Regions from separate parts of the Homo sapiens genome. Here region 2 is linked to region 1. The links are contacts of gene promoters, found by promoter capture Hi-C in human tissues and cell types (Jung and others, 2019). All regions are on one chromosome and are shown on one strand. Each heading gives the region's core, a stretch centred on a gene start or on the middle of the fragment in contact. The rest is flanking DNA. Distances are from core to core; before and after follow the strand shown.

Region 1 (6,214 bases), core at 1,276-3,775:
GAATAAATGACATGGCACCTCCTAGCAGGAAGGAAGCAGGGTTGAAACCCTGAAGTGTTACTGCAGTTGGCCGTTAATTGGGGTGGGGGCCTCTTTAAAGGGAAATTATTTACTCATTCATTAAACAACTTAACTGAGGGATTCATGTGCCTGGCCCCGATTTTGGTGCTAAAAATGCACGCTTAAACAAGGGTCCCTGGTTTAAAATCCACTAGTTCATTTTTAAAGTGCTTCTCTTGTTCTCTACCTCTCACAGTCTAAAATCCCTCCAGGAGTTTTTGAGTAAAGGACATGGAACAGGCCTCTAGGTGGAGGGATGGGTGGGACTGATGGGGCAGAGACCAGGGCTGGTTTGTTTGGCATCATCACTGGGCATCCACAGACCACCTGCCTCAGGCCTGGCCTGTGTGCAGCACGGAGGACAGTTCCTGCCTGTTCTGTGTTTGGGGCTCATGGGGATTCCAGGAGCTTCATGTTTCAGCCAGTGTGTGTGAGCCACCTGCTGTGTTCTTCAGCTGTCCTGGACAGTGCTGGGGACATAGTATGGCCACGGCAGTCCTGGACCCCGTTCTCACAGAGCTCCCACTCCAGAGAGAACAAAGACCTGCCAGCACCAAGTGGTCAGCTGTGAGAGCCTGGGGTGGTGTGCAGGGAGGGCTTCCTGGAGGAGTGAGCCAGGGTAAAAGACTCCAGATTGCATCCCCATGGCCCATCTTCCCCTTCCTTAGCAACCTTATGTCTTCGTTCCCTCATACATGCTGTGTTCCTGGCTCCTTGTGAGAGACAATGCTGGGCCACAGGAGAAGCCAATTCAGCCCCAATCTTCCCTGGTGGGAGCTCAGAGCCTTGTGAAGGGGAGATGGGCAACAAAAACAAGGGAGGGAAACTGACTAGTCTCAGAATCTCGGGTAGGGCATCAGAACGTGAGAAGGAACCAAGGTTGGTGGCTAAAAGGGACCCTAGAATGCGCCAGAGAGGAGGTGGCAGGGCCTTTAGTCTGGAAAGTCCCCTTCCCTTCATGTCCATATGCTGGGCTACAGCGCCCTCTGCTGGCCTCTCCTGGTAATGCCTAGGAATCTGGGTTGGTAAATAGGGACCTCCTTGGCTTTCTTCCACAACTCCAGACCTCAAGGGAATGCAAATGGGGAAGCTCTTCCTCTGTTCTCAGCCAGTTTTTCTCACACGTCTCATCTCCAGTCCCTTGATGCCCACTCCCTTCAGAATAAAGGAGGTCAAGCCACTTACTATGGCTTATGAGGCCCTGCATGGCCTAGCACCTGGTAACATCGCTGGCGCCCTCTCTTTCTGCTCCCCCTTTGAATATCAAATCAGTGTTTATTTTGTTCTGAGGAGCCATAAGTCCTTTTTGGAACCCACAAATGATGCCATGAACCACTGCATTGGAGAATACAGAGGTACATGGAATTTTGCATAAAAATTCATGAGGTTCTCAAAACCTCCACAGCCCAATCATGGCTTTCAAGTTAGAGCTCCTTTCCTATGCCCTGACCGTAGTGAAGTGCTTGCAGCAACCAGAACCGTCCGTACGTGCCATCCTCCTCAAGACTCTTCCCTACCTTCCTCTTAACCCAGCTCCTACTCGTTCTTCAGGTCTTAGCTTGAGGGTACCCTCCCAGAAAGAAGGCTTCCTTGACCCTCCAGCCTGGGGTGGACAGCTCCCTCAGCCCTCTGGATCCATCAAAGCCCTGGCCACTGAGTGACATGTCTGTCTACTCTGCTGGTAACACCTAAATAGAGCCCCACCCATCCCATAGGGAAATAAGGACCAGAGTTGTCTTGTTTCACACCTGTAGATTTCCTCCAGGTCCTGGGAACACAAAATGGGAAGTTCTATCTCACTATCCATCTCATGCCAGCCAGAGACAGGGTATGATGACGGAAGTAAGCCAGGCTGGTGGCTCACGCGCGTAATCCCAGCATTTTGAGAGGCTGAAGCGGGAGGATTGCTTGAGGCCAGGAGTTGGGGACTAGCCTGGGCAACAAAGTGGGACCCCTGGCTCTACAAAAAAATTTTAAAAATTAGCCGGGCGCGGTTGTGCGCGCCTGTAGTCCCAAGTACTCCAAAGGCTGAGGCAGGAGGATCACTTGAGCACAGGAATGTGAGGTTACTTGAACTGTGATCGCGCCACTGCATTCGTCTAGGCGACAAAGCGAGACCCTGTCTCAAAAAAAAAAAAAAAAAAAAGAGTCAAGGCTTAGTAATATTCCTGAATTCCTGAAGGAGTTAAGAAAGGAAAAGGACAAGCGGGGGTCTAAACGAGAGCACGAACCCTCAGCGTATGACGGCTCCAGGCTCCGGGGGAAAGTCCTTTAGCCATCCATCCCAAAATTAAGCACGCTGGGAGCTGGAGTCACAGCAGTGATAAAACGAACAATGATTCTGGTTCCTACTGACTGACAGGAGAGGTTTAAGGGTCTCTCACTCTCCGGGGAGCCCCTTTCCTTCCTGGCTGCGGAGGGCGGAGCCCGAGAGAGGCACGCATGCGCAATGCAACGTCTGCCTTAGGCCCGGAACTTCGGTGCCTGGGCGCAGCGGTGCACCCGGACCCGGAACATTCTCAGGCGAAAGTGTCTCTTGCGTGCGTGGGCCGGAGGTTAGTGTGCGGGGCCCGCCGGGCGGTTGAAAAGTCCGAGAGAATCAGGATGGAGGCCGTGGCGACGGCGACGGCGGCGAAGGAACCCGATAAGGGTGAGATCTTGGTCACGCGCAGGCGGCGGGTGGGTGCGGTTGCGGTGTCTCTAGGAAATGATTCCCCCAGGAACGCGAAGTAGGACTCGTTTTAGGGGGACACCCACCCCCCTCAGCTTTACCGGTCCTCTTCACTACTTTGCCCAGATTATTCCCTCCCTTGTCGCGGGCTGACCTTCTTTTCCTCCATTCCTTCCCCCCGAAATTAACCTCTTCCCAGTTCCAGACCAATCCTTTCCATGTCCCTAATTCATTTCCTTACCAGGCTAACTCTCAAATTAACAGAAACCTCTCTACCCCGGCCTAATTCCTGCATTGCCTCAGACCAGCCCTTCTCAAATTACCTCCTTCCCTGTACCAAGCTGAGCCTTCCCTTGCTCTCTAGACGAATCCTCCTACCTTTCCAGGCTAAACTTCTACCTGCCTCATGCAAACTTATCCCAATCTAACGATTCCTTCATTTCATTGTAACTCCCGTTTCCCCCAAAGTCCGAAATCCAGCCAGGCTCCTTTCAAAGTCCTTACTCAATTTCTGTGCTTTCCCACAACCTTCAAAGTAATCCGACGTCGGGTGAGGTGTGATTGGAAGCGTGGCTCCAACACCACTGGCCAAGAATTGGTAATTGTGGAAGCCAGATGGAGATGATTGGTATATGGAGGTAGGGGGAGAATTGTCGTTGTACTTTCTACTTTTGTGTATGTTTGAAATTTTCTAAAAATAAAAAATTTAACCTAAAAAAAGTCTTAAGGCCGGGTGCAGTGGCTCCCGCTTGTAATCCCAACACTTTGGGAGGCCAAGGCAGGAGAGTTGCTTGAGCCCAAGAGTTTGAGACCAGCCTGGGCAAGAGAGAGAAACCTGATCTCTATAAACATTTAAAAATTAGCCAGGCCTGGTGGCTAGGGAGTAGCTAGGACAAGCTACTCAGGAGACTAAGGTGGGAGTGTCACTCGAATCCTTTGAGATTGCAGTGACCTAAGATTATTACACCACTGCACTCCAGCCTCTGCAGCAGAGTGAGACTTGAGCCCAGGAGTTTGAGACCAGCACTGGCAACATAGCCAGACCCCATCTCTACAAAAAATTTAAAAATTAAGGCCGGGCCCGGTGGCTTACACCTGTAATCGCAGCACTTTGGAAGGCGGAGGCAGGAAGATCACCTCAGGTCAGGAGTTGGAGACCAGCCTAGCCAACATAGCGAAACCCCATCTCTACTAAAAATACAAATATTAGCCAGGCGTCGTGGTATGTGCCTGTAATCCCAGCTACTCGGGAGGCTGAGGCACCAACTGGAATCACTTGAACCCGGGAGGCGGAGGTTGCAGTGAGCAGAGATCGCACCACTGTACTCCAGTCTGGGTAACAGAGCAAAACTCTGTCTCAAAAAAAAAAAAATTAGCCAGGTTTGATGGTGCATTCCTGTGGTCCCGGCTACTCAGGAGTCTGAGGCGGGAGGATCACTTGAGCCCAGGAGGTCAAAGCTGCAGTGAGCTGTGTTTGCACTATTGCATTGCAGTCTGAGCAACAGAGCAAGACCCTGTTTCAAAAAAAAGAAAAAAAATTTGTCTCTTGGCCCCATCTGTCTCCTTCAGAGAGTCATGTATACTTGGTCTTCATTTCCTCGTCTCCTGCTCACGACTGTCTGACTTTTCTCCTAAGAAACTGCTCTGATTAGGGTCTGCACTGACTTCCCCCATGTTGTTCAATTCAGTCCCCCCATTCAGGTTTTTGTTTGTTTGTTTGTTTTTTGAGAGAGTCTCACTCTGTTGCCCAGGCTGGAGTGCAGTGGCATGATCTCAGCTCACTGCAACCTCCACCTCCCAGGTTCAAGTGATTCCCGTGCCTCAGCCTCCCAAGTAGCTGGGATCACAGGTGCCCGCCACTATGCCTGTCTAATTTTGTATATTTTTAGTAGAGATGGGGTTTCACCATGTTGGCCAGGCTGGCCTCGAACTTCTGACCTCAAGAGATCCTCCTGCCTCAGCCTCCCATAGTGCTGGGATTACAGGTGTGAGCCACCACACTTGGCCCATTCAGGTTTTTTTTCTTACTAGACTGGACTAGAATTAAATGCTGTTGATCCTTCCATCCTTTTTGCATGTTTTCCTTTGGCTTCAGCGACACCACAGTGCCTGATTTCCTGCCTGTCTCTCAGGCTGCTCCTTCTCAGCCTGACTTTGTTTCCCAGGGGTGCTGTAACAAAGTACTACAAACTGCATGGCTTCAAACAACAGAACTTTATTCTCTCATAGTTCTCAAGGCCAGAAGGCTGAAGTCAGTGTTGCTGAACTGAAATCCAGGTGTCTGCAGGGTCGTGCTTCCCCACAGGCTCTGGGAGAAAACCCATTTCTTGCCTCTTCCAGCCAGTGGTGGTTTCTGGAATTCCTTGGCATGTGGCTACATCACTCCAATCTCTGCTTCCCCTTTTGACGTTGCCTTCTTTTTTTTTAAGACGGAGTCTCGCTCTGTTGACCAGGCTGGAGTACGTGATCTCGGTTCACTGCAACCTCTGCCTCCGGAGTTCAAACAATTCTCCTACCTCAGCCTCCTGAGTACCTGGGACTACAGGAGTGCGCCACCACACCTGGCTAATTTTTTGTATTTTTGGTAGAGCGCCATGTTGGCCAAGCTGGTCTTGAGCTCCTGACCTGAAGTGATTCTCTCACCTTGGCCTCCCAAAGTGCTGGGATTACAGGGGTGAGCCATTGCAACCGGCCTCTTTTTTTTTAAGATAACAGTAATGGGCTCCAGGGATTACGATGTAGCTATCTTTTGCACAGCCAGTTTTTAGCTTCAGAGGCATGTCCTCCCCGCATCTGTGCAGTGCTTTTTCCTGGACCCTCTTGTCATCCCTCTCCCACTCCCCTGTGCCCTCCCCAGTCCCTACCTCTCATTTCTCTTGGCTTTGGTTCTTGTCTTGATTCTGATGACACCCACAGCTCTGTCTCCAGCCCAACATTTCTCTCCTGAGGAGTCTGGAGGCCCGTGTAGCAGCAGTCGGACCATTCCCCTGGATGCCTCCCTTACTTCCAGCACGTCAGCCCTGTGGCTCCTCCACTCAGCCTCCTGACATCTTTCTGATTCGCTCACTCATGATCCTGTTCCTTCCTCCACAGCCCCTGCCCTTGTCCAGCTCAGTCTTCAGCTGCATCAGTGATTTAAATCCTCCCTGATACACACAACACATGTATGTCACCTGTGACTTCTTTCCTCCCCAACCCAGCCACGCTGCTTAAAGTTGTCTCTATATTCTGTTTTCACGTATTTCCTGCTTGCCGCAGGCTTGCTCCCTCCACTCTTGGGAAACAAGTCTCACCAAGGTTTGCCCAGCGCTCCGCTTTCCTGTTTTCTTTCCATTTTTTTGAGACAGAGTCTTCACTCTGTCACCCAGGCTGGAGTGCAATGGCTGATCTCGGCTCACTGCAACCTCTGCCTCATGGGTTCAAGCGATTCTTGTGCCTCTGCTTCCTGAGTAGCAGGGATTACAGGTGCCCACCACCATGCCC
Region 2 (6,214 bases), core at 2,831-5,330, 140 kb before region 1:
CTCCCACCTCAGCCTCTTGAGTAGCTGGAATCACAGGTACGTGCCACCACACCTGGCTAATTTTTTTTTTTTTTTGTAAAGACAGTGTCTCACTATGTTGCCCAGGCTGGTCTTGAACTCCTGGGCCCAAGTGATTCTCCTGCCTCAGCCTCCCAAAATGCTGGGGTTACTGGAGTGAGCCACCATGCCTGGCCCCACTTTTTACTCACTTTTTTGTTCATTTGTTTGTTCCCACTTAAAAAAAAAAATCCTACCTCTCTTCCATTTTCAGTACATGCTCTCAGTGCTGAAATCCTCTGGTGACCAAATAGAGACATCTAGAACATTAATAGTGGTGTTAGGAGGAATTCAATTGACTGGGTAATAAATCCGCCTTCAAGTCTTTGCTTTTCAATGTTTTGTTTTCAATACTTTGCAGTCAACAAAACTAGAAGAGGACCTAGAGCAATTGCCAGCTGAGGAGTCATTCAACTATATTTTGAAGATAGGTGACCATTGATTTTTGGCATATAGCTTAGAAGGAGTTAAAAGAATTAAGGGACATTGCTATACTGATATTCTTTGGATTCCCATCTATTTAATTATGTGAACACATTTTCTCCAAGCTTGCATCACCAGGGGGGTAGACAATGAAAGTTTTTCTTTTTTTCTTTTTTTTTTTTTTGAGACGGAGTCTCGCTCTGTCGCCCAGGCTGGAGTGCGGTGGCGCGATCTCGGCTCACTGCAAGCTCCACCTCTCGGGGTTCACGCCATTCTCCTGCCTCAGCCTCCCGAGTAGCTGGGACTACAGGCGCCGGCCGCCACCACGCCCGGCTAATTTTTTTTGCATTTTTAGAGACGGGTTTCACCGTGTTAGCCAGGATGGTCTCCATCCGCCCGCCTCGGCCTCCCAAGGTGCTGGGATTACAGGCATGAGCCACCGCGACCGGCCGAAAATTTTTCAATAAAAATAAACTTAAAGAATACCAGCGCTTCCGCCACGGCTGCCATTGGAGAGCAGCAGCCATGGCTCTGCGCGACCCTGTGGCCGTGGGCCCCAAGGTGACCAAGGACGTGAGCAAGCCCAGGCACAGCTGCCGCCCCGGACGTCTGACCAAACACACCAGGTTTGTGCGGGACATGATCCGGGAGGTGTGTAGCTTCGTCTCGTACAAGCGGCTCGCCATGGAGTTGCTGAAGGTCCCCAAGGACAAACGGTCCCTCAAGTTCATCAAGAAAAGGATGGGGACGCACATCCGCACCAAGAGGAAGCGGAAGGAGCTGAGCAAGGTGCTGGCCACCATGAGGAAAGCTGCTGCCTAGAAAGACTGAGCCCCCTCCCCTGCCCTCTCCCTGAAATAAAGAACAGCTTGACAGGAAGAAAAAAGAAAAAAAAACCAGCAACAATTTTATGTCAAAAGTTTGAAGATTAGTGAACACATTCCTTAGAAAAATAGGCCAGGTGCGGTGGCTCACTCCTGTAATCCCTGCACTTTGGGAGGCCGAGGTGGGCGGATCACCTAAGGTCAGGAGTTCAAGACCAACCTGGCCAACACGGCAAAACCCCATCTCTACTAAAAATACAAAAAATTAGCCGGGCGTGTTGGCAGGCGCCTGTAATCCCAGCTACTTGGAAGGCTGAGACAGGAGAATCGCTTGAACCCAGGAGGTAGACATTGCAGTGAGCCGAGATTGCACCACTGCACTCCAGCCTGGGCAACAGAGCGAGACTCCACCTCAAAAAAAAGAAAGAAAAATAAATACAACTTGCCAAAATGGACACAAGGAGAAACAATAAATATGAATAATGCTAAAATGATTAAAGAAATCAAGTCTAAAATTAAGTATCTTCCCTCCAATGTTTATGATAACCCACTAGTGAAATTTACCAAATATCTAAGGAAGAAATAATGCCAATCTCACATAAACTCTTTTATGGTATAGAAAAAGCACAGTTTTATAAGGCAGGCAGAAACTTAATTGCCAAAACCTGCCTAAGACAATATAAGAAACGAAAATTACAGGCCAGTCTCACTACCAAACTTGGATGTAAAAATCATACATAAAATAGCAGCCAGGCACAGTGGCTCATGCCTGTAATCCCAGCACTTGAGGAGGCCAAGGTGGGTGGATCACTTGGGGTCAGGAGTTCAAGACCAGCTTAGCCAACATGGTGAAACCCCATCTCTACTAAAAATACAAAAATTATCCAGGCATGCTGGCAGGTGCCTGTAATGCAAGCTACCTGGGAGGCTAGGGCATGAGAATCGCTTGAACCCAGGAAGCAGAGGTTGCACTGAGCCGAAATCACGCCACTGCACTCCAGCCTGGGTGACAGAGCAAGACTCCGAAAAAACAAAAACTAAATAAGAGGACTTACTCTACCTGATATCAAACTTACTAGGGAGCTATGGTAATTAGGACAGTGTAGAATTACCCAAACATGAACAGAGACCAATGGAAGAGATTAGTCAGCCCAAAATAAGAACCCACTTCTGGTTGATGCCAAGGATGGTATTACAGAACCATGAGGAAAGGGTGGTCTTTTCCATAATGAGACTGAGACATTGAATACCTTTACGGGGAAAAAGGAAATTCGAAACCTACCTGACATCACATCAAATATTAATTCCAGATGGATCATATATCTCAATGTGAAAAGCTAAACAATAAAAGCTTTAACAGATAATCTAGAAGGGTATCTTTATGCCCCCAAGAGAGAAAAAGTGTTCTTAAAAATGACACAAAAAAGCACAAACATTACTGAAAAGATTGATAAATTGGACTACATTCAAATGTAGTTCATCAAAGACACCAGGAAGGGCTGGGCGCAGTGGCTCACGCCTGTAATCCCAGAACTTTGAGAGGCTAAGGCGGCAGATCCCTGAGATGGGGAGTTTGGCAGATCCCTGAGATGGGGAGTTTGAGACCAGCCTGACCAACATGGAGAAACCCCATCTCTATTAAAAATACAAAATTGGCTGGGTGTGGTGTCACATGCCTGTAATCCCAGCTACTCAGAGGCTGAAGCAGGAGAATCCCTTTAACCTGGGAGCCAGAGGTTGCGGTGAGCCGAGATCGCGCCATTGCACTCCAGCCTGGGCAACAAGAGCGAAACTCCAATTCAAAAAAAAAAAAAAAGGCACCAGGAAAAGAGTAAAACAGGGCCGGGCACGGAGGCCCACGCCTTTAATCCCAGCACTTTGGGAGGCCAAGGCGGGCGGATCACTTGTGTCCAGGAGTTCCAGACCAGCCTGGTCAACATGGTGAAACCCCGTCTCTACAAAAAATACAAAAATTAGCCCAGTCTGGTGGCATGCGCCTGTAGTCCCAGCTACTTGGGAGGCTAAAGTGAGAGGATCACTGGAGCTTGGGAGGTTGAGGTTGCAGGGAGCTGAGATCGTGCCACTGCACTCCAGCCTGGGCAAGAGAGTGAGACCTTGTCTCAAAAAAAAAAAAAAAGAAAGAAAGAAAATTGTAGGTGAAGGTAGAAGTATCTCCAGTGATCTTCAAGACTGGCACAATATTCTAAAAAGATACATTTGAACATAAAAATAAATGTTAACCAGACATCGTTTTTAGAATTATACAATACAAATTCTGGTGGGGAGTTGGCTGAGAGCCCCTCCTCCAGCTTCCTGGTGGTGGCGGTGTTCCACCTCCTGGGTCCCCACCCTCAGTCTCCCTTGCTCTGCCTTCTCCCCCACCCCACCTCCACATGCTAGAAACCAGGTCCTCTTCTCACCCTCTCTCCCAGGTGAGCCTGGTCACTCACAGAGCTGCAGAATCTGCTGTCTGTCTGCCAAGGACTCCCAACTCTGTGTCCACAGCAAGGATCTGTGCTAAACCACACTGGCCTTGCTGGGCCTCCAGCGCCATACACTCCCTCTTATGGCTTGTAACAGGTGTTTCCCCACCTGGAATGTTTGCTCTCCTCTCTCCTCCAAAGTCCTGCCCCTCCCTGAGGTGAGAAATCAGTTCCCCCACCTCCCCCACAGCCCCAGCACTCTGTGCTGAAATCATCATCAAAAACCCTGGTCTCCTCCAATCCCTCCTGCTACCCTCTCAGCCACCCAACATGCTATTCCCCCTGCAGGAACACTCTTCCCCATGATCTTTCTCGAGTCATTCTTCAGATCCATGTATCCCCTCCTCCAGGAAGCCCTCCCTGATACTCACCACTCTCCGGCCAGGGCAGGCACTTACTCTGGGCTCCCACAGGCCCCCTGGCCTCCCCCATCCCAGCCCCGACCACTCTGGGCAGTCAAGGTCTGGTGACTAACCTGCCTCCTCAACTGGACTGTGGGCCCCATGGGGGTAGGGCTGTCTCTGTCTCTACTGCCTCCCCAGCATCACCCAGTCAGGCCTGGATGCAGGCCTGGCATCAACTCTGCATAAAGGAGCGGAGGTCAGGAGTTCCCTGGGGCCTCAGTGCCTGGCACTGGTGGAGGGGCTTTCTGCATGCCACACTCTGGATCTTCTCCAGCTACTCCTTATTCTGGAAGCTGCAGCATGTTGAAATAAAAACTGGAACTAAATGGAGATGGAATGGACTTCACATTTGGACACATGGGTGTGTAAAGAGGAACGTGACTTCTCCAAAGTAACGCATAGAGGCCGGGCGCAGTGGCTCACGCATGTAATCCCAGCACTTTGGGAGGCCGAGGCAGGCAGATCATTTGAGGTCAGGAGTTCGAGACCAGCCTGGCCAACATGGTGAAACGCCATCTCCACTATAAATACACAAATTAGCTGGGCATAGTGGCACATGCCTGTAATCCCAGCTACTCCGGAGGCTGAGGCTGAAGAATCACTTGAACCCAGGAAGCAGAGGTTGCATTGAACCAAAATCGCACCACTGCACTCCAACCTGGGTGACAGAGCGAGACTCCGTCTCAAAAAAAAAAAAAAAAAAAAGTAACACACTAACCTCCTGACCCACCCAGAGTGGGTCTTACCTTCTAGAAAGATAGAAAAGAATAGAACCAGGCCAGGCTGACTCTGGCAGCTTTAGAACAATAGTAATGGCAGGAGTGGCCGGCGATGGACAGCTGGGGGTGGGACTGAAATAGACAGCAGCCAGGGAATAGTGGGTTGAAGGGAGAAAGGGAGTTATTTTTCTGTAGTCTTTGAAATTTTATTTTTCTCTTTCCTTTTTTGGAGACAAGGTCCTGCTCTTTTGCCCAGGCTGGAGGGCCATGGCGCGATCATGGCTCACTGCAGCCTCGAACTTGAGCGATCCTCCCTCCTCAGCCTCCCAAGTAGGTGGAACTTCAGGCGTCTGCCACCACACCCAGCTAATTTTTAAATTTTTTAAATTTTTTCTAGAGATGGGGGCCTTGCTATGTTGCCCAGGCTGGTCTCGAACTCCTGAGCTCCAGCGATCCTCCCACCTTGGCCTCCGAAAGGCCTGAGCCACCGTACCCGGCTGAAATTTGTAATCAACCCATAATCATCTATTACTTATGTAACTGAATTCCTATGAAAAGCATAATAAAGTGGAGATCATAAAGGTGCCGACTTCGGGCTGTTGTAAGATTTCGGTGCCACACCTAGCACAGAAAAAGCATGGAGAGCAGAAGGGCAGTGAACGCCAGCTGGCACACGTTGGCTACGTGCAAGTATTCGCCTAAACGCTGCGCAGGTATTCATCATATGATCCCCATAAACCTCTGAGGGCTGCACTCACATGTCATCCCCGATCTGCTGATGAGAAGTTCAGTTATAGGCCCAAGGTCACATATCCCGAGCCAGCGTAAAAGTGGAATCCAGGGAGGAGGAGGAGGAGGAGGAGCAGGAGGAGGAGGAGGAGGAGGAGGAGGAGGAGGAGAAGAAGAAGAAGAAGAAGAAGAAGAAGAAGAAGAAGAAGAAGAGAAAGGATTACTGTCCGTCTCTCTCTGGTTCTCTGCACACCCCTCACCTCCAGGGTTTTCAGTCTGTCTCTGGACCATTCTCCTTCTCTCCCCCTGCCCCATTCTCCAAAAGCCCAATGGGGTGACTTGCAGGCTGGGGGCACCCCCTGGTGCCTGTGTGCCGAGTGCAGAAAGTCAGGGCGGTACAGGGTGGAGGCAGGTGAGAGTGTGGGGGTGGTTTGGGTCCCACCGAGATATGGAAAGGTGGGTATCAGAGTAGAGTGCACTCATTCATTTCTTCATCATCACAGCCCAGAGGGTCCACTCTGTTCTGGGAGTGTTGGGGGGTAGGAGTGGAGCAAAACAATGCCCCCAGACGAAGA

The links. Contacts are between HindIII fragments. The study calls those that stand out against the background at their distance.
Region 2: a contact is called between a fragment that was not itself captured here and the fragment with the promoter of CCDC97 in region 1, in 4 of the 25 tissues and cell types used here (IMR-90 fibroblasts, bladder, lymphoblastoid cells and 1 more).

The regions. Positions count from the first base shown.
Region 1 is chr19:41,307,647-41,313,860 of GRCh38, forward strand. CCDC97 (coiled-coil domain containing 97) reads left to right here and starts at 2,526. Exons shown (of 5, transcript NM_052848.3): 1 at 2,526-2,710. The coding sequence starts at 2,665. LOC105372401 (a long non-coding RNA gene) reads right to left here and starts at 2,403. Exons shown (of 2, transcript XR_935968.4): 1 at 2,292-2,403; 2 at 1-2,179. It overlaps HNRNPUL1 (heterogeneous nuclear ribonucleoprotein U like 1), which reads left to right. Exons shown (of 15, transcript NM_007040.6): 15 at 1-141. RefSeq lists enhancers at 1,119-1,298, 2,572-2,861. The HindIII fragment of the contact is 30,341 bases long and covers 1-6,214 here.
Region 2 is chr19:41,168,856-41,175,069 of GRCh38, forward strand. The region is part of intron 2 of LOC124904790; the gene reads right to left. It also overlaps the pseudogene RPL36P16. Among named protein-coding and RNA genes, the nearest start is that of CYP2S1, 21 kb to the right of the region's middle. The HindIII fragment of the contact is 4,900 bases long and covers 1,631-6,214 here.